Regions from separate parts of the Homo sapiens genome. Here regions 2, 3 and 4 are each linked to region 1. The links are contacts of gene promoters, found by promoter capture Hi-C in blood cells and fetal thymus (Javierre and others, 2016). All regions are on one chromosome and are shown on one strand. The core of a region is centred on a gene start or on the middle of the fragment in contact, and the rest is flanking DNA. Distances in the headings are between cores, read along the strand shown.

The links. The method cuts DNA at HindIII sites, captures the fragments that hold promoters and counts their contacts. A CHiCAGO score of 5 or more calls a contact.
Region 2: a contact is called between a fragment that was not itself captured here and the fragment with the promoter of LINC02313 in region 1, in 1 of 17 cell types (M0 macrophages). The highest score is 6.0, in M0 macrophages.
Region 3: a fragment that was not itself captured here is called in contact with the fragment with the promoter of LINC02313 in region 1 in 4 of 17 cell types (megakaryocytes, M0 macrophages, M1 macrophages and 1 more); the score reaches 7.2 in megakaryocytes.
Region 4: a fragment that was not itself captured here is called in contact with the fragment with the promoter of LINC02313 in region 1 in 1 of 17 cell types (M0 macrophages); the score reaches 5.2 in M0 macrophages.

What each region holds. Positions count from the first base shown.
Region 1 is chr14:31,940,141-31,946,546 of GRCh38, forward strand. It overlaps LINC02313 (long intergenic non-protein coding RNA 2313), which reads left to right and starts at 4,713. Exons shown (of 2, transcript NR_146544.1): 1 at 4,713-4,968. RefSeq lists an enhancer at 3,995-5,194. The HindIII fragment of the contact is 3,310 bases long and covers 2,246-5,555 here.
Region 2 is chr14:32,551,849-32,557,789 of GRCh38, forward strand. The region is part of intron 4 of AKAP6 (A-kinase anchoring protein 6); the gene reads left to right. Among named protein-coding and RNA genes, the nearest start is that of AKAP6, 230 kb to the left of the region's middle. The HindIII fragment of the contact is 6,899 bases long and covers 899-5,941 here.
Region 3 is chr14:32,473,472-32,479,518 of GRCh38, forward strand. The region is part of intron 2 of AKAP6 (A-kinase anchoring protein 6); the gene reads left to right. Among named protein-coding and RNA genes, the nearest start is that of AKAP6, 150 kb to the left of the region's middle. The HindIII fragment of the contact is 265 bases long and covers 1,787-2,051 here.
Region 4 is chr14:32,492,661-32,499,458 of GRCh38, forward strand. The region is part of intron 2 of AKAP6 (A-kinase anchoring protein 6); the gene reads left to right. Among named protein-coding and RNA genes, the nearest start is that of AKAP6, 170 kb to the left of the region's middle. The HindIII fragment of the contact is 5,027 bases long and covers 2,262-6,798 here.

The DNA of each region.
Region 1 (6,406 bases), core at 3,463-5,962:
AATATGGAGCCGCTAACCTAGGAAAAAAATCATGGCTTGAACCAAGGTGGAGGACATGGAGCAGGGCCCTGTGGCTTTTGGAGTAGAAGTGGTCACACACGTTAACAAACAGCATGAACCCAAACTATAAAAACATAGAATTTTGAGAGCTCTAAGGAAATTTGGATGTTATCTGGTCAAAGCCCTCATTTTGTAGATTTGGAGCCAGACACACAGGTTAAATGTTAAGTGGCTTGCCTACGGTAAAAAGGCTAGCTAGTAACAGAAATAGGATGAAGACGTGTCTCTTGCTCTGAGTACAGCTGTCTTTTCTGCCACTATAGGTTTGGGTTTGGGAAATTAGTAGCCCAGAGCTGATTCCCACACAAACACCGTGTCTGTAATTCAGGTGTGTTGCTGCTGAATAGAGTGTTGTCTATTCTTAGTGTTGGTCTGAACTGCTGGGCTTCCTATCTGTATTGGAAACTGAGTCAAACAAGTATAGCCCTCTTCTTCCACCCAAAAATAGAGCTGTTTATCCCTCACCCCCTCCCACCCCCTCTGCTCAGGTGATGGGTACACCAAAATCTCAGAAATCATTACTAAAGAACTTATTCTTGTAACCAAACACCACCTGTTCCCCAAAAACCTATTTAAATTAAAAAAAATAGAGCTGTTTAATATAACAAATGTAGAATGAATGCAAAGAGAAAATGAATGCCTCTTGGGTACCAGCTGTGTGGCAAGCACTGTGCTGGCCCTTCATGGCAACTATGAGGAAACTGAGGTTGAAGACATTGTATCTCTTGTTTAAGATCTCACAGTACCAATTGACAGTTCTAGGATTTGTTCTATTCCAGAGCCTACAAGTTTTCCACCAATCTATGTTCCCTCCCTCAGCATAATTAATAATTGTTATACTATAAGGCTAAACTAAATTTATATCAAGATGTCCCAGAGAGTTATATCTTATTTGTTAACCATTAACTTTTCCCAATCAGACACTTAATGCAGCACTAGTTCCATCTTAAGACTAGAACAGAACACCATGGATGATGATTTTGAACCTCTTTTGGCCAGAAATGTGCCCAGAGTTCTAAACCTTGGACAGCTTTGCATCAAGACCTTTGGAGGCAGCTTTCACCTACTCATATACGTGATTCACCATCTCCATGGGGCCCTCTTTTCTTGATTATTAGGTCTGACTTTATTTACAGCTGAAATGTGATTCCCTTTTATGAAGATCATTTTTTATTCCAAAAAAGACCTTGGGTATTATGTCCTGTTCTCATGGTCAGAAATCTGAATGCTTCAATATACTGCATTTTGCTTTTCTTTCATAGCCAAATAAAAGAGAAAGACCACAGTTATACATAGTGTGTCAGTCTGGCTCACTCAGATTATGTTTGTAAAATTCCTTTTTCTATAGAGCTAATATTTACTCAGCACTGATGTCCCAGGCACCATATGGTATCCCAGGGACCATACTAAGCCCTTTCTATGGATGGTCTCTCTTAAGACTCAGAATAACCTTTTGTTTATAAACTGTCACATAGGAGGGTCAAACAACTCAGCCTGGTTCATACTGCCATCAAAAAGCAAAGCTGAGCTTCGAACCCAGGCTGTGTGTGCAAATCCCTGAGCTTTCAAACCACTGTGCATGCTGTCTCCCAACTCTTTGTTTTTTCTGTGCCTTTCTCTAGCCAGGAGGTTTTTCTCCACCTGCCCATTTATCTTCCATAATTCTTGCTCTTGGGACAGATGATTTCCAAGGTCCCTTCAAGTATTGAAATTCCATGACTGATTAAAAATTATAATGTATGCAGTTTGATTAATTTGCACTAATGCCTGAGTTCATTCACAATGTTAATTTCTTTACAAGGTTCCAACAGTTTTTTAACTTACAGATCTCCTTCTGATGTTAAAGGAATCATGCTGCTTTTCCTATAATAATATTTAAGTCCCCAGTTTTAAAAACATAAGGTTTAAAAATATATCTGAAAGGATTTTACCATGCATGCAACACACCAATTTTCCATATGGACCAAAATAGTCTTTTTAAGACCCTGTTCTCTCAGTTGTCTTTCCCAAGTCTCACAGATGCAGTGCTAATTGCATGCAGCTTCAGGTCCTTTATAACATGAGGTAACAATTTCAGTGTCTTGGGCTTGAATGCTGCATTTGTTAGACATGCCAGGCCTGGAATTGGTGTCAGCTCGTCAGGATGCTGAATCCACATGGAGAGCAACTCATCTGAACGTTGGGAAGCTTCCTGGAGAAACTCCTGTTGTGCTCCTCTCAGGCATGGCGTGAGAGCCAGTGGTGTGACTGGTTCCTTAGCTAGGATGCATCTTGGTCAGACTTGGCAGCACTGGGTGATGGCTCTTTGGGACCAGTGCAGGTATTTGAGTCTCTCTAGTCAAGTTGTACTTGTTGAAGAATGATTCCAGAAGTGACGTTTATTCACAGACCTACTACTTGGGCTACTTGGGCTAGCTCCAAGTGTCTGAGTGGCTCGGCGGCTGAAGGCAGACTGCACTTGGGACACATCTAAAATTCATTCTGACTGGATTGAGAAAACAAGGAGACCAAAAAGAAAAGAAGTGGCAGGATTCTGCAATCACATCTGTAACTGAGGAGCCACGGGATATAACTTTGGAGAATATCTTGACCTGATCTTGCTTTGCAGCTTGTCTGTAGTTCTAGTCTTTAGAGTCGCGGAAGCCTGAGTTCCCACCAAGCTCAGCTCTTAATGGCTGTGTGATAATGAAGACGTCACTTGATCTTCCTGAGCCTCAGTTTCTTCATCTGTAAATTGGGATGAGATACCTCCCTCATGGGTCTGTTGTGAGGACAACATGTGATGATCCTGCCAAAGCTCTCTAGGCACTCTGTGCTTAGCTGTGTGGCCAATGCACAGTCAGCAGCGACACGATGCTATTTTTACTGCCTTCTTTCCCTCTTTCCCCAAGAGGACACACTCCTCTAGAAAAATAAGGTTCATGCAAACCTGCACTTTAAGAGCATTTATACAGATGTGCACGATGCAGTGCATGTGTCTTGATGGGGCTTTGTTAAATTGAATTTTAAAATTGTGTTTTAAATATACTTAGGGAAGTACAGAAAGGTACCCCAGAACAGGTTGTTTTATAAAGACAACAATAATTTCTGAATTATTTTCATTTCAGCTTTTTATATACTGTGTAGTCACAAAATGAGAGACCCTCCCCCACTCACCCCACCCTCACAGCTCCCCAGAGGAACAATAGCCATGAGCAAACAGTGCTTGCCTCCTGACCTTCGGGTGTTTCTCCTAAAGGCTAGCTCATTTAAGGGCAGCAGTCAGGGGCTTGCTACTCTTCGCAGCCCTGTTTCTTTTCTTGTGATGAGAAGAAACAAGCCCAGGCTGACAGCTGGCCAAGACTTGAACTAGAATGTTGAAGTTGAAAAGTCAAAATGGGTCTGTGTCAAAGGACTAGCAGAGGGGAAGGGACTGTCCTCCGGGGAGCTGAGGAGTGAGGATGGTCCTCACCTCGATCCAGCGATCAAATTCCCCAAGTAAATCCATGTAAAACATGAACTGTGGCCAGCACTTGTTAAGCAAGGAATATTAAAAATCATTGTCATTACTGCTGCTATTATTGTTACAGGCTTGTTCCAAGACTCTGGGTTTTGGCTCAGCTTGTCTAAATGGTCTTCCATCTTAAGGAATCAAGGGGTAGATTTTGGAACCACTAGCTCCATAGCCAAAGAAGGAGCAATCCAGCAACTTAGGCATTGATTCCGCAAGCCGTCCCAGAGCCTCTGTGTAGTCCTTACTTTCCCTAAATTGCCATGACTAGCTGGCTCAAGTTAGGCCTTTCTAATTTACCTGGACCGTTGCTGTCTCCTGTGCACGGCTGCGGGGATGAGCACCTTGTTGTGCGTTCCTCCGCTGGGCTGACGGAAATGGTTTGCAGCCAGACTGCTACGCCACGCGGTCTGGCATTTAGTCCTCAGAAATCTGATTTAGAGAACGTATACATTGCATCACAATCTAGATTTCAGAGGAAAGTTTTGGATAGAATAACCCAGACCCAAGTCTGGGTAATTTAAAGCCTGGGTGAAATGGGGCAGAAAGAGCCCAGAATATACAGGTCTGAATCTTGGCTGGGGTGATGTGGAAGACTGGAGGCGCCAGACGGCTGGCCTCCCTCCAAGTGTTTACCATGCTGGTGCCATGGGGCTGGGGCTGGGCAGTCCATGTGCTCATTCTTCCCTTCTCTTCTCCTCCTCCTCCCCCTCCATCTCTCCTCCTCCTCCTCATGTTTTCTATAGGCTAGAGAAACTCAGGAACTACTGACCCACAGGGAAGGCAAGCGGAGATATGAGACGGAGGAATCAAACGCTGCCCTGGTGGAGGACGCTGTGGGTTTACAGTGGATGATTTCCTCTGCCTATGAGATAAAAGGGCTGGCTCTGTACTTTGAACCCCAGCCTCACCCACCTCTGCCTGGGTGTGGCTCTTACTCTCTGGAAGACTTACTCAGGGGAGAGGACAGGACAGTGTGAGGCTTGAATCTCCAGGAAATAGAGTCTGTGGGCAGCCATTGACTCCGAGTCAATGAGAACAAGGTGTGCTGTTTCCTCTGTGCTGTTTCTTCCCTGCCCCACTCCCCGCCCCTTTGTCCTATGGTGCCCAGGCTGCCTGCACTGCCCAGATACCACAGGCCTTGCCAGGGACCTCCTGAGAGGTTTCTGAGGCTTGCAGCCAGTGGTCCCGTTAGTCTGCACGTCTCCGAGTTGCCCTCCCAGAGGAGAAAGCATATGCTGCTGGGACCGACTGCAGCTCCTCATGGATGCACCTGCCACCAGAAAATTGTTGTTCAGTCTGGGATTGCTTTCTCTTCCCAAAGCACAATCTCACATGCAGTCATGAGCCCAGTCCAGCCTCTGGGACAGAAGATTTCGTGCTTTTATAAACCAACAGCACTGCAGGTGCTGCACAAGGTAAGTGTCTCCCTTATTTCTTTCCCTCCCCGGAAGCCTCTGTATCAAACTAGGAGTTACCTTAATAGGGTCAAAGGAGGGTGTGGCTGTTTCACTTCCTGTTGTCAGCAGCCAAGTGTGCCTGAGGACAGAGGGTGGTGGGCAGGCATCCATTATGTGTAGGGAGGCAGGTATTGTACTGCTCTGGAACACACTGAGGAAGGGGGGTGCTCTGGCTTCCCTGACACCACCTCCCTGGTCAGGCTGCCGCAAGGCACCCAGATGTCAGTTGTCTTCCCACAACCTAATCATTCACAGCTGCTCCAGGGCCACACTTAGGATCTCTTTCCAGCGGTCCTCTTAGTCTGCCCCAGGGGCATGGCAAAGGAGGGCCTTTCATCCAGGGATCTCACACTCACAGAGACTTCACATTTGGATTTTTAAAAATTTATCTCTGAAGATATGCTAATAAGACTGAAAAGATGGAAATGATCATCAGCTTTAAACTTATGCCTGATTTTGGTACCAGGCCCATGAATTTTTAAGATTAATCCTGCCATTATCCCGTGAATAGGATGGTTATATTACCCTGTGCGTTTTTTTTTTAAAGCTTACACGTGTTAAAGCCTTAATTTATTAAATGTAAACTTCTAAAATATAGTATATCACAATTTTTGAAACCCTATTTGGGGATTTCTTCATTTTAATATACCTGAAGCCTCAGATAATGGGCGTGTCCCTGGTCTTTGTCCTCCAAGCGGCCCATTGGCCACTCCCCTCTTGATGGACTGTGGAGAGAAGCTGTTCCCTTTCCACGTGGTCATTTCAACTTCAGAAAAATCTCAGGTGCAATTGCCTGTTTCATTACAGCAGCTAGCCTATAATGAAAGAGGCCTTCGAAGCTTAGGCATGCCCAGTTTGGCCCCTTTCTTCATTTTACACACTGTTTTCTCCTCCCACAGGAAGGCTTCTCTCTACGGGGCTCAAAGCTACAGGCTCTCCACCATAGGGAAAATGGCCGACTAATATTCTTGAGTTCTTTACCCTTAGGCAATGGGGCTCAACTGTGACTGCACATTGGAATCAGTGGAGAGTTTTCCAAACATCCATCCGATGCCTGGGTTCTACCCCCACAGAACCTGATTTACTTGACCTGGGGTGTGGCCTGGGCATTGGAATTTTTTAAAGCACCCCACATGATTTTAATACACTACAAAGTTTCAGAAACAGTGCCCTAAGACCCTGGTTCTCAAACATTAGAATTCATCAGAATAATGTCCTCGTGGGGAGGGTCTTGTTAAAGCATAGATTGCTGGGCACAGTTTCTGATTCAGAGTTTCTGGATGGTACCTGGTAATCTGCATTTCTAATGAGTTCCCAGGTGATGCGATGCTGCTGTTCTGGGGATCATGTATTTACAACAGTTGTGCTAAAAGAAAGACAGTTAGAGTGGTGGGTT
Region 2 (5,941 bases), core at 3,098-5,597, 610 kb after region 1:
GTAGAGATGGGGTTTCACCGTGAGAGCCAGGATGGTCTCTATCTCCTGACCTTGTGATCCGCCGGCCTCGGCCTCCCAAAGTGCTGGGATTATAGGCGTGAGCCACCACGCCCGGCCTACATTCTGTAATTTTATATAATTTTCTAATGTAGTATATTTATTATTTTTGGTCTGTCTCCCTCTGTTAGAATGGGAACTCTGTGAGGGCAGGAATATTTATCTGTTTAGTTTGTTAATGAATCTCATGTACCTAGAACAATGCCTGGTGTACAGTAATTGCTCGATAAAGACTACTGAATGACTGAATCCCCATTTTAGAACAGAGGAAACTGAGTTTAGAAAGATGAACGAACAATTTTTCCTATGCAGCACAGCTAATAAGTTACAGAGCCAGGCTTCAGGCCACCATCTGTTTTATTCCTCCCACAAGATAAAGACTTGGGAATAGATGAATTCCCTAAAAGAAGGAGACTAGATGGAGAAAAGCAGAGGGACTGATGTCTGAGATTCAAGTTGTAGCTCAGTTATGAGACAGGAACAAGGAAGAGATCCAGTTGTGGGGATCAGAAGGGACAGAAAGAATTCTTGGGTATTAAATACATGGAGAGAGAGAAAGAGATACTAAATAAAATGGACATTAGCTTTGTTCTTTGCAAAAGATAGATCAAGAATAATAAAGACTAAGGGGAAAAAACCCAACAACCTTTAGATTTGTTTGAAATAATTAATGAAGACCTTAGGAAAAAAACAGACTTAATGAAGGAGTGAAAGTAGATATAGGTGATTAAGAAGTAAAAAACAATCATTCCTAATATTTCCTGGAATTGTATTGAAAACACAATATGAGGCAAAGGGCAGTAGTTGAAAGTAAAGTCAAAAGTCTTTTTTAAAAAATTGAAGCTTATTTGAAGGCAGAAGTGGCAAGAGAGATTGAAGTAGCTAGAAAGACTATGTAAATGTGGACACACTGAGAAAGAAGGGAGGGTATGTGGAACTCATAGGGAGAATTATGGCCTGGTATCAAGAATGATAAAATACTGAAAAATATATCCTGCTTCTAATTCCACTTCTGTCAAATGGAAAGTGGAGTCCATTAACTCATCATGGCAGAGTCCTCCACTCTGTCTTCTCTGAGTCACACAGAGCAGAAGGCAGGAGGCACATAGAAGCCCAGTAACTGCAAGAGAGTGTGGGGCTGTGATAGAATCTCCAGTAGGTTCCTGTCAGTCCCCACCCCTCACATTTGTATCTTTCTTATAATAGACTAATTTTGTAAAACAAAAGATTCTTTTTTTCTTTTTCTTTTCTTTTTTCTTTTCTTTTTTTTTTTTTGAGATGGAGTCTTGCTCTGTCACCCAGGCTGGAGTGCAGTGGCACGGTCTCAGCTCACTGCACCTCCGCCTCCTGGGTCTCCTGGGTTCAAGCCATTCTCCTGCCTCAGCCTCCCCAGTAGCTGGGATTACAGGCACCCACCACCATGCCCAGCTAATTTTTGTATTTTTTTTAGTAGAAACGGGGTTTCATCACGTTGGCCAGACTGGTCTCGAACTTCTGACCTTGTGATCCACTTGCCTTGGCCTCCCGAAGTGCTGTGATTACAGGCGTGAGCCACCGCGCCTGGCCAAGATTTCTTTATTCTTTGGGAAAATTGATTTTTGGATAATATATTCACATGGTTTTAAATCATAGACATTTAAAAATACTCAGTAAATCCCCCTCTCATCCTTATCACTCCATCTTGAATTCTCACTTCACCATATGTGATCACTATTGTTTTTAGTACTTACATATTTTTTAAGAAGGCCTTTACATATATAAGCCAATGAAAACAAAAATTTTAAGGCAATATTTTTAAAACTGGGGAATCAGTTGTAACCATTCCCTTTCCACAAATAAAAACTCCTAGTAAACTCTGAGTTCCCAAGGGATGGTCTGTTCCCAATCTTTTTCTGAGGGTTGAGGGGATTTTGCTTAACTCTGGCTGATTTACCCAGAACCCATTGTGTGAATAAATTACTAGAGCATCTTAGGTCTGAGTGCTCAACACCTACGGGAACTTCTCAAGGCCTAAAATTCAAAGCCAGAAGCGAAGTCAAGTAATGGAAACAGACACATTTGTTCCGATACATTCAAGAAATAGAATAAAAGCAATAAGGAGATAAAAGGGAAGAATATATCTGGAACAGATGAAATCAAACAGAATGGTGAAAAATTAACTTAGCATGATACCTGGACATATGTGGTATAAGTAATAGGGATTGGCAAATTATGGCCTGTGAGCCAAATGTGGCCCAATACCTGCTTTTTAAAATATTATTTTATTGGAACTCAGCCATGGTGTTTGTCTGTGGCTGCTTTTGTATTTCAGTGACAGAGTTGAATAGTTGTGACAGAGACCATGTGGCCTAAAAAGATTAAAGATTTACTCTCTTGCCTTTTACAGAACAAATTTGCTGACCCCTGCTCTTGAGTAAGGAAGAAGAGAGGGAGATAATTTCTGATCAGCATCTACTGTGTGCCAGGATCTGAAGTAGATTCTTTCATTTAATTTATATAACAAGCATATGGAAGAGCTGTTATTGGTCTCATTTTACAGATGAGGACTCCAGGCTTAAATGCAAATGACTTGCTCAGGGTCATAATGCTGCAAAGTGTGAGAGCTGGTATTCCAGCTGGGATGCCAGAGCTAACTTGGTTTTCTCCATGAGATATAGTCAAATGCCAGGGAATTTAGACAATAATCACATATGCAAATAAAATCGATTTATGAAGCCCACAGACCACTACTAGATTAGTAAATGAACAGTGTGACTTCTTCCTCATGACCTGAAGAGAGATGAACTGGTTGGTAAGTAGCCACTTGTATAAGGTGGGTAATTATTGATGCTGGGTTAACAGCTGTATAATTCCTATGGGAGCTGACAGAAAGCAGCACAGGGTATGCCATCTCAGTGAAGCATTTCAGGAGATCTGTCCTTTGGGATATAGCGCATGGTCCGCCTCTCACATTTTGGGCTTCCTGCTGCCATTAAATTCTCAAAACTTGTCCTGGAAGATACGACTTAGTCAAGTTGGACTCAGTGATACAGAATCGATGGATGCATGACATAGCTGAGCCTGTTTGTCCACAAGAGATGTAAATGTCTTCATATGCCAAATTAGAGCATCTTGATTATAGTTCAATGACTTAGCTGTTGTATTTTGTCCTAGAGACATCTATAATCTAATTTAACAAACTTCTTCGGTGCCAGCTAAGGATGTCCTTGCACATAAGTTATCTTGGACTCATGGCAGCAAATATTTAGCTGAGTTCTTCCTCTTTGTAACTAGACTGTAAAATTGCAATCAAGTATGCTCCCAGTTTTGTGGTAGCAGCACAAATGTGGCTACCATTGCACTTGCTAGAGATGGAGCTGGGAAGTGGTGGTTAGTACCTGTGTATAATGAAGGTAGAGAAGTTTTTCCCCCGAGATTAACTTGGCACTCATTTTTACATTTCTTTTCCAAGAGGTAGAATGGGTCCAGAGGAACGCATCCTAGCATTCATACTGATGATAGCAGCCATTAAGAAGTATCATGTCCTTCTGAGTTTTCTTTATTGTGGTAAAAATATGATATAACAAAATGTGCTATCTTAACCATTTTTTAAGTGCACAGTTTAAGAATATTTGCATGGTTGTAAAACAGATCTCCAGAACGTTTTCATCTTGCAAACCTGAAACTCTATACCCATTAAATAACAACTCCCCTTTCCCTCTCCCTGCTGTCCTCGGGTAACCAACATTCTACTTTCTATCTCCATAATTTTGACTGTTCTAAGTATCTCCTCTAAGTGGAATCATATAGTATTTTTCTTTTTGTGACTGGCTTGTTTGACTTAGCATGTCCTTAAGGTTCATCCATGTTGTAGCATGTGACAGGATTTCTTTCCTTTTTAGGGCTGAATAATATTCTATTATGTGTTTATTCAACATTTTGTTTATCCATTCATCTGCCAGTGGACAATCTGGGTTGCTTCCACCTTTGGCTATTGTGAATAATGCTGCTGTGAACATGGGTGTACAATTATCTCTTCAAGACCCTGCTTTCAGTTCTTTTGGGTATATACCCAAAAATTGGATTGCTGGATGTTTTTTTTTTTTGAGGATCATGTATATTTTTTGAGGAATCTCCATGCTATTTTTCAAAGTAGTTACACCATTTTACAATCCCACCAACAGAGTACAGAGTTCCAGTTTCCCCACATCCTTGCCAATACTTGTTACTTTCTAGGTTTTTTTAAACAAAAATAGTAGCCATTGTAGTGGGTGTAAGGTGATAGATCATTGTGGTTTTGATTTCCACTTCTCTGATGAATAATGATGTTCAGCATCTTTCCATATACTTGTTGGCTATTTGTATATCATCTTTGGAGAAATGTCACATCCATTACCCATATTTTAATAGCGTTATTTGAGTTTTGTTGTTCAGTTGTAGGAGTTCGTTATATATTCTTTTTTTGTTTTTTTAATTGAGACAGGGTCTTGCTCTGTCACCTAGCCTGGAGTGCAGTGGCATGATCACAGCTCACTGTGGCCTTGACCTCCCAGGCTCAATCGATCCACCTGCCTCAGTCTCCTGAGTAGCTGGGACTACAGGCATGCGCCACCACACCTGGCTAATTTTTGCATTTTTTGTAGAGGCAGGGTTTTACTCTGTTGCCCAGGCTGGTCTCAAACTCCTGGGCTCAAGCAATCCACCTGCCTCAACCTCCCAAAGTGCTGGGATTGCAGGCATAAGCCCCCGCACCTAGCCCATTCTGACTATTAACACCTTATTATATGTATGATTTGCAAATTATTTTCTCCCATTCTGTAGCCTATTTACTCTGTTGGTGGTGTCCTTTGATGCATCAAGTTTTTAAGTTTGATGTAGTTTCATTTATCTATCTTTGCTTTTGTTGCCTGTGGTTTTGGTGCCATAACCGAGAATTCACTGCCAAGCCCAACATCATGAAGTTTTTCCTCAGTGTTTTCTTCCAGGAGGTTTATCATTTTGGGTCTTATGTTTAGGTCTTTGAGTTCTCTCTCTCTCTTTTTTTTTTAAATTTCAATGTAGTTCCCACCCATATTTTAAGGGTCTCACTCTTGGCTTTCTTTTAGGATAAGACACAGCTACAAGGCTAAGACCAAGTCATCTTCTGGAATTTGTCTTGGAAAAAAAAAATACTTTTGAGAGCCCTTTTTTTGTTCTTGTTGGTTTGTTTTTGTTTTTTGAGACAGGGTCTCACTCTGTCATCCAGGCTGGAATGTGGTGGCGTGATGATAGCTCACGTCAAGTCTCCACCTCCTGGAGCTTAGTTGATCTTCCCACCTCAGCCTACCCAGTAGCTGGGACTACAGGTACACACCATCATGCCTGGATAATTTTCATATTAATTTTAGTATTTTTTGTAGAGACAACATTTCACCATGTGCCCAGGCTGGTGTCGAACTCCTTGGCTCAAGCCATCCTCCATCTTGGCCTCCTAAAGTGCTGGGATTATGGACAGGAGCCGCCGCATGGCCCATTATAGCCTACTCTTTTAAAAAAAGTCCTGTCTAGCCATTATTTACTGGATTTGAGATTCAAATAAGTCCCATTTGAAACACAGCTGTATCCTTTTTTATTCACCCACAGAGTAACTTGCAATCACGATTCTGCTATAAATTCAATTCTTACTTGCCTTTGATGTTTCTTTTATACCCACCATGCACCAGTGTTCCTAGTGTTGATGGAGTGGTAGTGTGCTCTACACTACTTGGATGTTGATAATGATCTCTTATGAGTATCCTTATCAGGAAGCGTCTTGAGGCTATGGAATTCCACTTTTCTTCACTGGCATTCCATTTTGCATGTGCCTTTCCCTTATGCTAACTTTTTCATTCACAGTTGCTAGTCCTCCTCTTGTCTCTGTATTCTC
Region 3 (6,047 bases), core at 669-3,168, 530 kb after region 1:
ATAATGTTTGCTCTCAGAATGAGTCAAATGTCATACTCTAATGAAAATTCCAAAGCAGAAAGAGAGAAAGGAAGAAGAGCTTGAAATGCCAAATTAGTGGGGTGAGGTGCTTGCTGCTTGCATTCCTGCAGATCCAAGCATTTTGCAACTCTAGTAAACCTGCCAGGACAAGGTTCATTTGAAGGGGTGTGGATTACCGGGAGGTGCGGGGGGACTGACATTCTAGTGCTTTAGATGGTAGGTAACTGCCTGGTCTTGTTTCTCAGAATAACTTGTTCATCCACCACATATGTGGCTTTCATCCCAGCACATTGGGCAGGACACCACTGTTTTCTTCGTTTGGTTAATAGTTACACTTCCTTGACACCTCATACAGCTGGGTCATGGATCTGCTGCTGTTCTCAATGTGAGCATCACTGTCTTTTTTTCTTTTTCTTTTTCTTTTTTTGGGACAGGATCTCTGTCACCCAGGCTGGAGTGCGGTGGCACGATCTCAGCTCACTGCAGCCTCCACCTCCTGGGTTCAAGCGATTCTCCTGCCTCAGCCTCTCAAGTAGCTGGGATTACAGGCATGCACCACCGTGCCTGGCTAATTTTTGTATTTTTGGTAGAAACGGGGTTTCACTATGTTGGCCAGGCTGGTCTCAAACTCCTGATCTCAGGTGATCCACCCGCCTCGGCCTCCCAAAGTGCTGGGATTACAGGTGTGAGCCACGGTGCCCAGCCCACTGTCTTTTTTCATCAATGCTAAGAGAATTTAATTCTTTCCACATGAAGCGATTCTACTTCCTCAACACGTGTTTCGTTTTGTGACACAACAACTTGGAGGAGGTGAAATTCATTAACAAGGAATAAATATCTTCTCTTTATGGAGCCACTTCCTTAACCCCTCAAATCTTCCTAGACCACTTCCATCCAACGTAGAATAAGTGAACCATATGAAATTGCTGTTTTTGTGGGTCAAAGGCAATTGAATGGTAGTCTCACATGGTTCAACATCTGTATACAAGCAAGTTCTCTGATGAAAAAGCTGAGTGACTGCGAGTACCATTCTTAGAATTCTTTAGGAGAGAAGAAAGATTTCAAGGTAAACAATCTGACAAACTTATTTGTAATCAAACTAAATTCCAGGTGGGGCTGGCTTATAGTTCACACACATTAAAGAAATAGGGATTGAATCTTGCAGGAAACTAGCACTTTTCCCCAAGGGGGATGAGGATTTAAGTTTCCTTCATGGAATATGTTTCCAGTTCATTTGGTCCTGCATTTATTTTAGAAATTGTTTGATATTTGCACTTCACTCATTTTCCAAAATTTGTTCTGATTCCAGATTTCTCTGTTAAATTTCTATAAATTTGTTTATTTGCTATTTGCTTTGGAGAATAGGAATTATATGAATTTCTTGGCAAAACGGATGAAAATTCTAACCTACCATTCATTTGGGAGAGGTGTACATATGTTCACTTCCACAGCTGTAGCACATTTGTTCTCAGTTTTGTACTTTTGAGACACAGGAAGTATATTTCTTTAAATGTTCTCTCTGGAAATACATACGTAGAGCTACAGCCTGATGAACATTCCTTATACAAAGGAATGTACATCTCAGTGTAGTACTCGTCTATAATTTACTTTCAATGGTTTATGGATGTATAATAATCACAGTGAACCTTTGTTCAGCGCTTACTATATGTCAGATACTTTGCATGCACTATCATGTTTTGTCCTTATCCTGTGATGTGGGTCCTAGTCCTGACACACAACACAGGAAACTGAGGCACAGAGGTTAAGCTTCTCTTCCAAAGACCCACAGTTGTTATTATAATAATAATGCTAAGGCTGATGTTCAGGGCATCTCTAAAGCCTTCTGCTCTCTTATTTACAACACCATTCTACCTTCACATTGGCTACAGCTGATTCAGGCATCCCCTCCATTAATCCTTTTTAGTGAATGTTAGTTTTTGTTGTGGGTTCTTATTTTAAAGGTGATATTTTGGGCAAGATGTCTTGAAGGACTGATGGCAGGTGCATATTGACAATTCTATGCAGAGCAAAGCTTCCAAAAAGGCATGCTATGAATTCTGTCAATGTGGAAGATCGAGCAAAACCAGCTTCTCTTTGCAGCACTGGCATGCAACCAACCTGCTCACCTGCATCCTTACATCTTAATCTGATGAGCAGAGTCTGCAGACAGAAATCATTTTCAGCTCTTTTTTTTTTTTTTTTTTGAGACGGAGTCTCGCTGTGTCACCCAGGCTGGAGTGCAGTGGCTTATCTCTGCTCACTGCAAGCTCCGTCTCCTGGGTTCATGCCATTCTCCTGCCACAGCCTCCCAAGTAGCTGGGACTACAGGCGCCCGCCACCACGCCCGGCTAATTTTTTTGTATTTTTTTTTTAGTAGAGAAGGGGTTTCACCATGTTAGCCAGGATGGTCTCGATCTCCTGACCTCATGATCCGCCCGCCTCGGCCTCCCAAAGTGCTGGGATTACAGGCGTGAGCCACTGCGCCTGGCCTTCAGCTCTTTTAACTACTCATAAAAATGTTTTAAGTACATTTTTAACTAGCAGTACTTGTATAATATTATAATTATTATCTATTTGGTACCTTTAAATTTTCATGTTTATATGCAGAAATAAACAATATATTGTTCTTAAACATATTTTTGTGATATATTTTCTAGGACCTTATATTTATCAATTCAACAAATATTTAATGCCTACCATATGTCAAACTATTCTTGGCATAGCAGTAAACACAAGTGACAAAAATTCTGACCTCATGCTCTTAAAGTTTTTATAATGATTAGTTTTAAAAATCTTTATCCATAGAAGGCTAGGCAAGGAGGATGGATCTATATAGAAGCACTTCCTTACTGAGTTGAGAGGCTTGGGGAGAAATGCATAGTGCCTCCTTATTTGGAAGCCCCCAAAGTCATCTCAGACCCTACTTGGACATAAGTAAACAGCGAAGTAGGATCTGGAAGAGGTTTAAGTTGAACTTTCCTTGTGTGCATTATCCTCAAAGATATATTGCAATAAGATTTTTGTATAGAATGCAAGTCTCCTACTGGATTTTAGCCCTGTTTCCCATCGAATTTTATCTAGTCATATTTGACTTGTGTCAGATAAAGATTAAAACCTTCAGACACCGGGCCGCAAGTTGAAGATCTTTCTGAATCACAGTGCTAAAATAATAGGGAGGGATTTTCCGTAAGTGTTACCAAACTAAACTGGGATCCCCTTGCCTGGTGTAGCAAAGCCAAATACTGACATAGGGATTGCTGCAAGAGAAAGTGAAGCATTTATAGCAGGATGCCAAGCAAGGAGAATCAGCAGCTCACACTTAAGACCCAGCCTCCACAGTGGCTTACAAGTAAGGCCTTTTAAAGGTGAGGAGGCAGAGGTTATAGGCAAAGTCATCAATCAATACACAGAGGTTATACATTGGTTTGGCCTAAAGAGGTGGGATATCTTAAAGCGGGGTCTTACAAGTCATAGATAGATTCAAAGGTTTCCTGATTTGCAATTGGTTAAGGAGATGAAGCTTTATCTAAAAATTTGTGATCAGCAGAAAAGAAAGTTAGCTCTGGCTCATGGGTATGACCTCTTCCAGGCTCCTCAGGAAGAAATTTAGAACAAAGAACAGCAGTCAGAGTTCAGTCCTCAGTTCCCTTTTATCTGAGGTCTACATGCCAGTGGATCCATTTGGAAGGGGTCTGGGTTTCTGAAAAACAACTCACATTAAGATGTTATCTTTAATTTCTACAGGGAACATCTCATGACCCTAACTTCCTTGGCTATTGTTTTAAGCTACTGCTACCTTCTTGCTTACCAAGTTGCTCATTTACTTCTCAGGGCTAGCTAGGTGCCTGGAATTTCCATTGAAGGAGCTCCAGATCTTCCTTTATTTCCATGCCTGGCGGTGTTGAAGGGGTGTGGGAGAGAGGATAGCAGGCCCTTAAGAGGGGTCCTGGGTCCATCTTATACATAGAAGCAACTGAAGAGGAAAGCTGAGATTGGGGTTCGCAGTTCTCCCAAGCAGTGGCTGAGGCTGGCAGGTTGGAGCTCAACTCTTAGGCAACTTGGCTGTTATATGTATGTGAATGTCTGTCCTAACAAATGAATTTAGTGCTGCAATTTCAAGACGGTGTTGTATCACCGACTTGCAAAAATGCCTTCTGGCATATTTATTACTTTGGTTCCAAAAATCATATTTAGCCAGATCTTTTCAGTAATGAAGCATTTTTCTTTATAGCAATCTTGCTACAGCTGAGAGGCAATTTAGAATGGAGGTTAAGAGAGTTGATTCTTGGGGCCCAACTGTCTGGGTTCAGATTCCAGCTCCATTTCTTACAGGGTTACATAAAGCAGCTCACTGTGCCTCATTTTCTTCTTCTGTAAAATGATGGTCATGATAATAGCATCTACCTCATGGAGGTGCAATGAGCCTTAAGTTAGATAGTATTTGTGAAATTGCTTAAAATGATGCCTGGCCATAGTGAGCACTTTATAAATATAGCTAGAATGATGAGAGAGTCTTAGATTCTCCTGTCAACAGGCATTGCATGGCTGGGGTTGAGCCTCCCTAGTGAATCTTTCACATAGCTTGACAGACATAGTGGGCATCAGCCCTAAATGCCAAAAGCAAACTTGAAGATTCAGAGCAAAGGCATGTGCTGAGCATTTGCCTTGTATGGAGTTTTGGGTGCTCTTATTCAGTGATTAAGAGCCAACATTAGTGAATGTTGTTGCCAAGAAGTCACACACACACACACGTACGTGTGCCCACAAGCCAAGTCCCTGTGTGATTGCCATCAGATGTGTCAGGAAGACATCATGCCCAGATCTGTGAAACTATGGAATAGATGTCAGGGAAATGCGGGTCCATCTGCTAAACAGATGACTGAATGATTAAGTGAATAGTGAAAAGGAGAATTCCAAGCTCCAACTGGAGTCAAGATGTGAAGCAGCAGCAGTAACACTAACAGCCTGTGGGTGACAAGGATCAAAGATGGGCTAAATGTCTTCCGAGGGAAAACCAAATGTGGTAAAAGACACATCAGAGGAGACCTCTACCATAAAAAAAACAAAAATTTAATTCGATGCCAGAAAGAGATAATCAGCAAGGAGAAAACTAGATTTAGCCTGAAATATAGGTCTGCTCAAGGCTCGTCAGGGGAAAGAAGGTGAACATTCAGGTTGATTTTATAGAGAGCTCCTAGAACACATAAACTACATTGTGATGACTAAATATAAAGAAAGATGATTATCACTCTTTTAGGCAGGAAATGGGGATGGATAGAGACTGGCTGTGCAGATGGAGGAAGAGAAAATGGTTAGTGTGAGATAGGAAATGGAAGAGAAGCATAAACAGGATCCCTTGGTATAATGGCCAAGAATTCCTGATTTCTACTGTGTCCCCCCTTTGACTCAGAATAAAATTAGTATCCACAAAGAAAGAGATAGTCTTAAATTAGAGGGAGCTGAAGAAAATATTTTGGGGGGAGAGGAGATGAGAATTTGACATGTTAAAGGACTCCTAGGAATATAGGGAGAATGCTTTCTGAAAAGGAATTCCATTGACTCAGGGTTTAGACTTAGGAACATGTGACTTATACCAAGTAGACATCGACTCACTTTGATATTTTCAGTATTATATACAATTGCTTTTAAAAATTACTTCTATTGTTTTCCTTGATTACATGACTGATACATATTCTTATAAAAATGAGGAGAAAATAAAAATAATCAGTGGACCACATATGACTTACACCAAGTAAACATCGACTCCTCACTTTGATTGATTTTCAGTGTTGTATACAATTGCTTTTAAAAATTACTTCTACTGTTTTCTTGATTGTGTGATTAATACATATTCTTATAAAAATGAGAAGAAAATAAAAAATAATCAGTGGACCACTAGAGATATCCACTATTACCATTTTTGATATATTTACTTTTTCTAATTATTTACATGTAATAAAAAATTGGACTCAGATTCTATAACAATTTTATACATTGTTTCTTTAACTTAATATTATTTCCTGAAT
Region 4 (6,798 bases), core at 3,525-6,024, 550 kb after region 1:
CAGGATATAACTGACCACAGAACTGGGATTATCTTTCTCTCTCTTAAAAAAAATTCTCCATGGGCTGTGCTATCTAATATAGATAAAATCTAGTGATGAAAAAAATAACTCCTAAGAGATATTCCAGTGGTCCAAATACTTTTGCCACTCCTATTAGAAAATATGCCTTTTTCTTATTCTTAAAGGATATTCAAATAATTTAAAGGTTAAAGTGCCACCAGTTTATGTCAAACTGGTGTTTATGAAAACCATAAAAATGAAATGCCACCATTATAATCTGTGATTAATCTACATTGTGAATTTGCTTTGACTATGGGATGTGTCTTGCCTTTCTGTATTATTATCACAAATGGAAGAACCTCAGCCTGTGGAAAGTCGGAACTGGGGTGCTGGAGAAAAAGGGTAACTGTTTGTCAGAGAAGGAACTATGTTTGAAAGGCTTTTGGCCTGAGGAAGGTAGATTCTAATTTATCGTCAGAAGTGACTGGAGCAAACCTGGCTTAAGACTGAGGCTGAGAATGGGCTCTAAGGCACACTCTTTGTTTGTTTGTTTGTTTGTTTTTTGAGACAGGGTCTCTCTCTGTCACCCAGGCTGGAGTATACTGGTGCGATCACGGTGCACTGCAGCCTTGACTTCCAGGGCTTGGGCAGTCCTCCCACCTCAGCCTCCCAAGTAGCTGGGAACAGGCTTGTACCACTACACCTGGCTAATTTTTTATTTTAATTCTTTTGTAGAGATGGGGTTTCACTATATTGCTTAGGGTGGTTTTGTACTCCAGGGCTCAAGTGATCCTCCTGCTTCAGCCTCCCAAAGTGCTTGGATTACAGGTGTGAGCTACCGCACCCGGCCTAAGGCACACTAAAAAGATTTGATATGCGATTGGATCATTTGTTTGTTCTTTCATCAAATATTCATTGAGTTTTATAATGTATTTTATAATGAAGCCTACATGACATCCATTATGTCACCTCAGGGCTGCTGGTCACTCTGAACTAACAATATCTCAGGAGACTGGGAGTTGGTTGGGGGTAGCTTGCTGAACCCAGAAGCAAGCTATGTGTGCTCCATTGATTCTATAATATTCCAGAATTCATTCATTTAGCAAACATTCACTGACATTTGTTAAGGGCCCAGTGCTGTTCTAAACCAGCTCTGCAGAGATGACCCTGACATAGCGACTGCCAACTATGGTTTTCTTAGTTGGGGAGTGAGGGAGGTAAAGAGAACATTAAGATGTCAGGCAGAGGCAAAGCCTGGGAGCACTGAGGAGGGGTCATTAAGCCAGGCAAGGAGAGTCACGAGGCTTCTAGAGGAGGTGGCCATTGAACTGACTGTCAGGAAGTTTGAGAGAGTGGTAGCCAAGGAAAGAGAAGGGACTTTCAGACTTTATCCACTTTGGTGTTCTCTCTTTTGGGAGACCATGGCTATCCATTCACGACAGATTAATTTACCCTTTTATTTCAACTTCTCTCATAATGAGATTTGAGTCATTCTTTCTACAAGTAGTTCTCAGCAAATCTCCAACCCAGGAAATTCTTCCCTATATCTAGCTATGCCCACCCCTTCCTGGAAATCCAGACTCTGTCCTGGAGTTCTGACTTTTGTGGAAACCATGAGTAGGGTGTTGATGATGAAGTTGGAAGATTTGTGAATTTATCCTGTGTTACTTCTGGGATTCAGAATGCTCAGTGCTGGCATGGAGGAACTCACATCGTAAGGAGGCACTATGCGTTTTCCTTCCACTGTTTATTTTTTTGCTAATTTCTTTTCTTTTCTGCAAAACAGTCATATTAGCCAGTCAGTGGAGTACTTTATTAGAGGTAGCATGCTTTAGTAGCTATGTGTCACATTGTAAAGGAGAACTAAGTTTCATAATTATGAAAAATGCTTAGAGTATTCTTGTATTTATAGTTTTCTCTATGAAGGGAATGAGTATTCTTTATAGGATTCTGGGCAGTTAGTTTACTTTCACTGGGACTTCCTGGGGAATGATGCACTATGTGACTGGATACTGCAGTCGGAATCTGAAATTGCTCCGTAAAACAGCTGTCCAAGTCACTTGCATGCCTCTCTTGAATTCTATGCTCCCTAACAATCCACATCTCTAACAAAACTGTCATAGTTCTATGTTTATTAGTGATGGGTCTAAGCTCTCTGTGGGTTTTTAAAGATAGGTGTATAACTTCAGTGTTTCCCGTCAGCTAAAGTAAACTACACCCCATGTTGTGGGGTGTTGAGGAAGCACTGCACACAGATTGTAAGCTTTACATGTGAGCTTTCTATTGTAACCAAGCAACTGACACATTAGACACCCCTTTGCCATCAGCTTACATTCTCTGAGAACTTAGGTCAGTGCCTAAAATAACCCTGTTAATTGTGGGGGCACATGTGGAATGAAATTCCACTTAGCAGTCTGGGAGCTGAGTGACTGAGGATTTGAAACCTTGCTATAGTTACAGTTCATAACAAGTGTCTAGGCAGTTAGACCTTAAGTGTTCAGGTATGGAAAGAAAGTCATATGTTATGTTTTAGATTCTGTTTGTAAAGCTGGTTAACTAGAGACAGCTGATGAAAAACCAAATCGACTTGAGTTACAAGATCTGGGCTTTCTCTGCTCTGCTTTCAACCTGTTGGTTGGTGGTGGAGTAGCTGACAGAAGCGAATGGCTTGGCTGAGGGACATGAAGTGACAGCAGCCTGTTTAGGACCACACCACATTTTGGACCTCTTGCTGTGCAGTTCAGGTAGGCTGTTGTTTATCTGGCATTCCTTATAAGACTGACAGAAGTCATTAAACTGTTCAGTTTCAGAGTTGGGCATGAGAATCTCAAGCCTCTCTCCTGCACATAGCACGTTTATGTTAGTGGACACTGCTTCACTCCCTAACTAGACAGTATGCCAAATGAACGTCTTCGTATTGTTGTTACCCAAGTTCACTTAAATTCTAGGACATAAGGGAGGCTGAGAGCATTCACACAAAGTGCGACTTATCTGGCGCGTGGTAAAATGCATCTTTAAAATTTACCTTCCTCTTTTCTGTTTTATTTTCCTTATTCTTGTTCCAAAAGGCAGGCTTTTGTGTTTGTGGGAAACAGTGGGAGAAAATGTTAAGCCTGTTAGTATATTCCAGAACATATGGTTTTCTTATTTTTTTAAACTGCTTAATAGGGTCTGGGTTTTATTTGAAGAGTAAGATGAAAATCAACACTACTCTTTTCCAAATAAACTCAGTTAAACTACTGTTTGTGCCCGTATCAGTGTAAGTAACATAAATTGCTGCAATATTGTTGTTCTTCTTACCCCAATGTTGACCTGTATTATAAAGTATCAAATTTAGTTTTGGCTTCAAGTATCTGGCACATAAAGTAAGTATACAAATGCTGTATAATAAGTATGTGAATGCTGTAAATGATGCTTTGGGACTTCTACCTGATTAGGTTATTTAATCCAGCATTTATTCAAACTTATACCTCATGTCACATGACAGACATATTCCTAAAACATGTAAATCAGGTTTTGTAATTAGAATGACTTAACACATACTTGGAAAGCTGATCACTTTTAAGGAATCTATGTATAAAATGAATAGAGAGTTACAACTAAATTTATGCTTTGATGGTTCTTTTTTGCATGTCAGGTTCTTAAATTGAGATTCACTGATGGTGCATAACTTTGGATAAGTTTCTCAGGAACAAAAACTGCATTTTTATGATCTTGAAGTATACACACAGATGTACATGTATATGTACATGTGTATATATATGTATATTATATGATCACATGAAGCCCTTGGGGGTCCTTAGAAGGATGTCTAAGGGGATTTGGGAGTGGCCTATTGATATATTGGATGTTAAATTGTGCCTTCGGTGGAGAAAGATTTTCTGGAGAGAAGGGTCATGGTCTGAGACTTGAGATTAAAAAAAAAAAGTTGAAAAGAATATTTTCCTACTGTTTGTATATTAATGTCACTAATATACTTGAAAAGCTGCAGTATTATTACCCATCTAACATATTGTTAATGTATTGCAGCCTCAGGAATTATTAGCTTGAACCATATGAAATTGCCAATATTTGACAATTTTTGACCTATAAAAATGGCAATTTTGTATGGCTCAACCTAGTTATTTAATGAACATTAACTCATATTAATGAAAGGTTAGCCTTAAGTGCCCAACAGTAGTCGTATGAACCAAATATATTCTTATAATTGAAGTATGAGAGCTGTCTAGTTAAAAAGTAGATCATCCAGAGTTACTTCCTGTGAATAAATCCAGTATGCATGTGTTATGTCCTTCTTTTAATTCTTAACTTCTTTGTTTGGTCTCTTAAAAAGAACTTATGTTTCTGCCAAGTGCTGCCTACGGTGTTTTTGAGATCCGGAGACCGTGGGCATACATCCTCAATGGCTGGGAGTTGATATTTAGCAGGATTTGGGGGTTATCTTTGAGAAAGTTCATCCTCTGGATAGCTTGCCAGTAATCGAATGTGTGTCACAGTGTTAGGGTCTCTCTATGCATAGTATCTTAGTGTTCTTTTTCCTTTTCTAGAGTGAAATCTGAAGTCATTGATTTGAAACCTTTCCTCATGTTTATATAGGTGTTTGGTGCTATAAATTATCTCCTAAGTCCTGCTTTTAGTGAGAATCTCATGTTGTATGTTTGTTTTCATTCATTTAAAATGCTTTCTCATTTACATTTTGACTTTCTTGACTCATGGAGTATTTAGAAGTGCATTATTTCTTTTCTAAGTATTTGGGGATTTTCCAAAAGTCTTTCTATAATTCAGTTGTGGTCAGAGAACATACTTTTTATAAGTTGAATCTTTTAAAATTTATTGAGACTCATTTTATGATCATAGTCTATCTTGGGAAATGTTCCATAGACACTTGAAAAGAATGTATTCTACTGTTTTAGTAGAAAAGAAAGTATTCTACTGTTTTGGTTGACTCTCCTAATTTACCTAAAATGGCACTAGGTCAAGTTGGTTGCTAGTGTTGTTCACATCTTCTCTCTATGCCCTTAGTGATTTTATATATATATATATTTTTTTCCAATCAATTTTTGAAAGAGGGGCATTAAAATCTCCAATTAAAATTGTGAATTTGTCTGTTTCTCCTTGAAGTTCTTTCAGTTTTTGCTATATGTATTTTGAAGCTGTCTCATTAGGTGAATTAACATTTAGGATTGTTGTGCTCCTTGATGAACTCATCCCTTTATCATTATAAAATGATCCTTTTTATCCTTGGTTATAGTCTTTGCTCTGAAATTTACTTTTTCTCATGTCAATATAGCCATTTCAGCTTTCTTTGAAAGTCTTTTCTTTTTTAGGGAGTTTCAATCTAAGGTATTTATGTAAAAACTGTGAAACTAATTTATTAAAATACTTATTCGATTAATCAAGGTATAAGTAGAATTCACTGATAGTTTTCAGTCGTCCTTCTACAATTCCATTTCTACAATGTTATGGCTTTTATAGTCCTTCCTCCTCCATTGTCATGTGACTGTCATTTTACAGCCCACATAATGCAAGATTTTCATATACTTAACATTTAGCATGAAATGAGCACTGGCCAATTAGAATGAGTGCCAGATATAAAAGGTATGGCTTCACTGGTGCATGCTGGCTGAATATCAGTCCTGAATATATAACAATTAATGTCTCCTGAGTTAGGTGCAGGAGCCATTTTTTTCCAGTCATTCATATGAAACTCTAGCTTCTATAGATACCTTAAAAATTAAAATAATCTTTAACACTTAGAATTCTAAGCACTATTTAGTAATCAAATATATCAATATGTATATCAACATCTTAAGGCATGACTTCTTTATATTAAGGGAAAATTCCACAACAGAACTTATTTTAGATATTGGCCTTAAAACTTTTATTTTAGATATTGACTATTTTATGTAGCAAATATTTGTTCATTAATCCACCAGTTTGTTTGCTTTTTTTAATTGAGGCTTTCCTGTAGGTCAGCCATTGGGAATTCGAGGATGAGCAACACTACTTGGTCTTGCCCTTAAGAAACTACTGTAGTCAGGGAGCGAGAACTATTCCCAGTTCTGGTGCACTCAAGATATCATGTGGCAGAGGGGTAAGTGGGCGGGAGGGTGTAAGAGGACATCCCTTGGCCTCACAAGATCTCTCAAGGTGTAAGAGCCAAAAACAATTTAACTTCATTTACATATGTCCAAAAAGGTAGCAATTAATTTGTAATCTATACTTTGTTCCATTCATTGAGAAACTTCACTTACCTTGTAATCAGCATACCTTCAATAATTTTTTTTTTTTGGTCCATGTCTGGGGTTTTACTGGAACCCTTCCTTTGCTTTCCATACTCTATGTAGCACATACTACCTAGTGGAGTACTCACACATTGTTGGCACTCAGTAAATATTTGTTGAACAAATAAATGAATGAATATTTGCCCCTGGTACCATGGAGGATATAGGAAAAAATTGGAGCTGTTGTTCAGCCCTTTCATGAACTGGGTATTACCTGAAGAAAGTGAAGCATCTTGGCTGTTAGCAATGTTCAATTTCTTTATCAGAGTAGTGGTTACACATGTGTTCACCTTATGATTATTTGTTATGATTTATCAACTTTTATCAAGCTATATTTCACAACACAAAAACTTAAAACACATGATAAAAAATAAGTGTAACAGCAAAAAAAAAAAAAAAAAAAGAGAGAAAGAGTGGAAGAAGGAATTTTAATTTTTAAGCCTCCCAAAGTTCTGGGATAATAAGCATGAGCTACTGTGCCCAGCCTGGGCTGTCATTTTTTATACAATTAGGA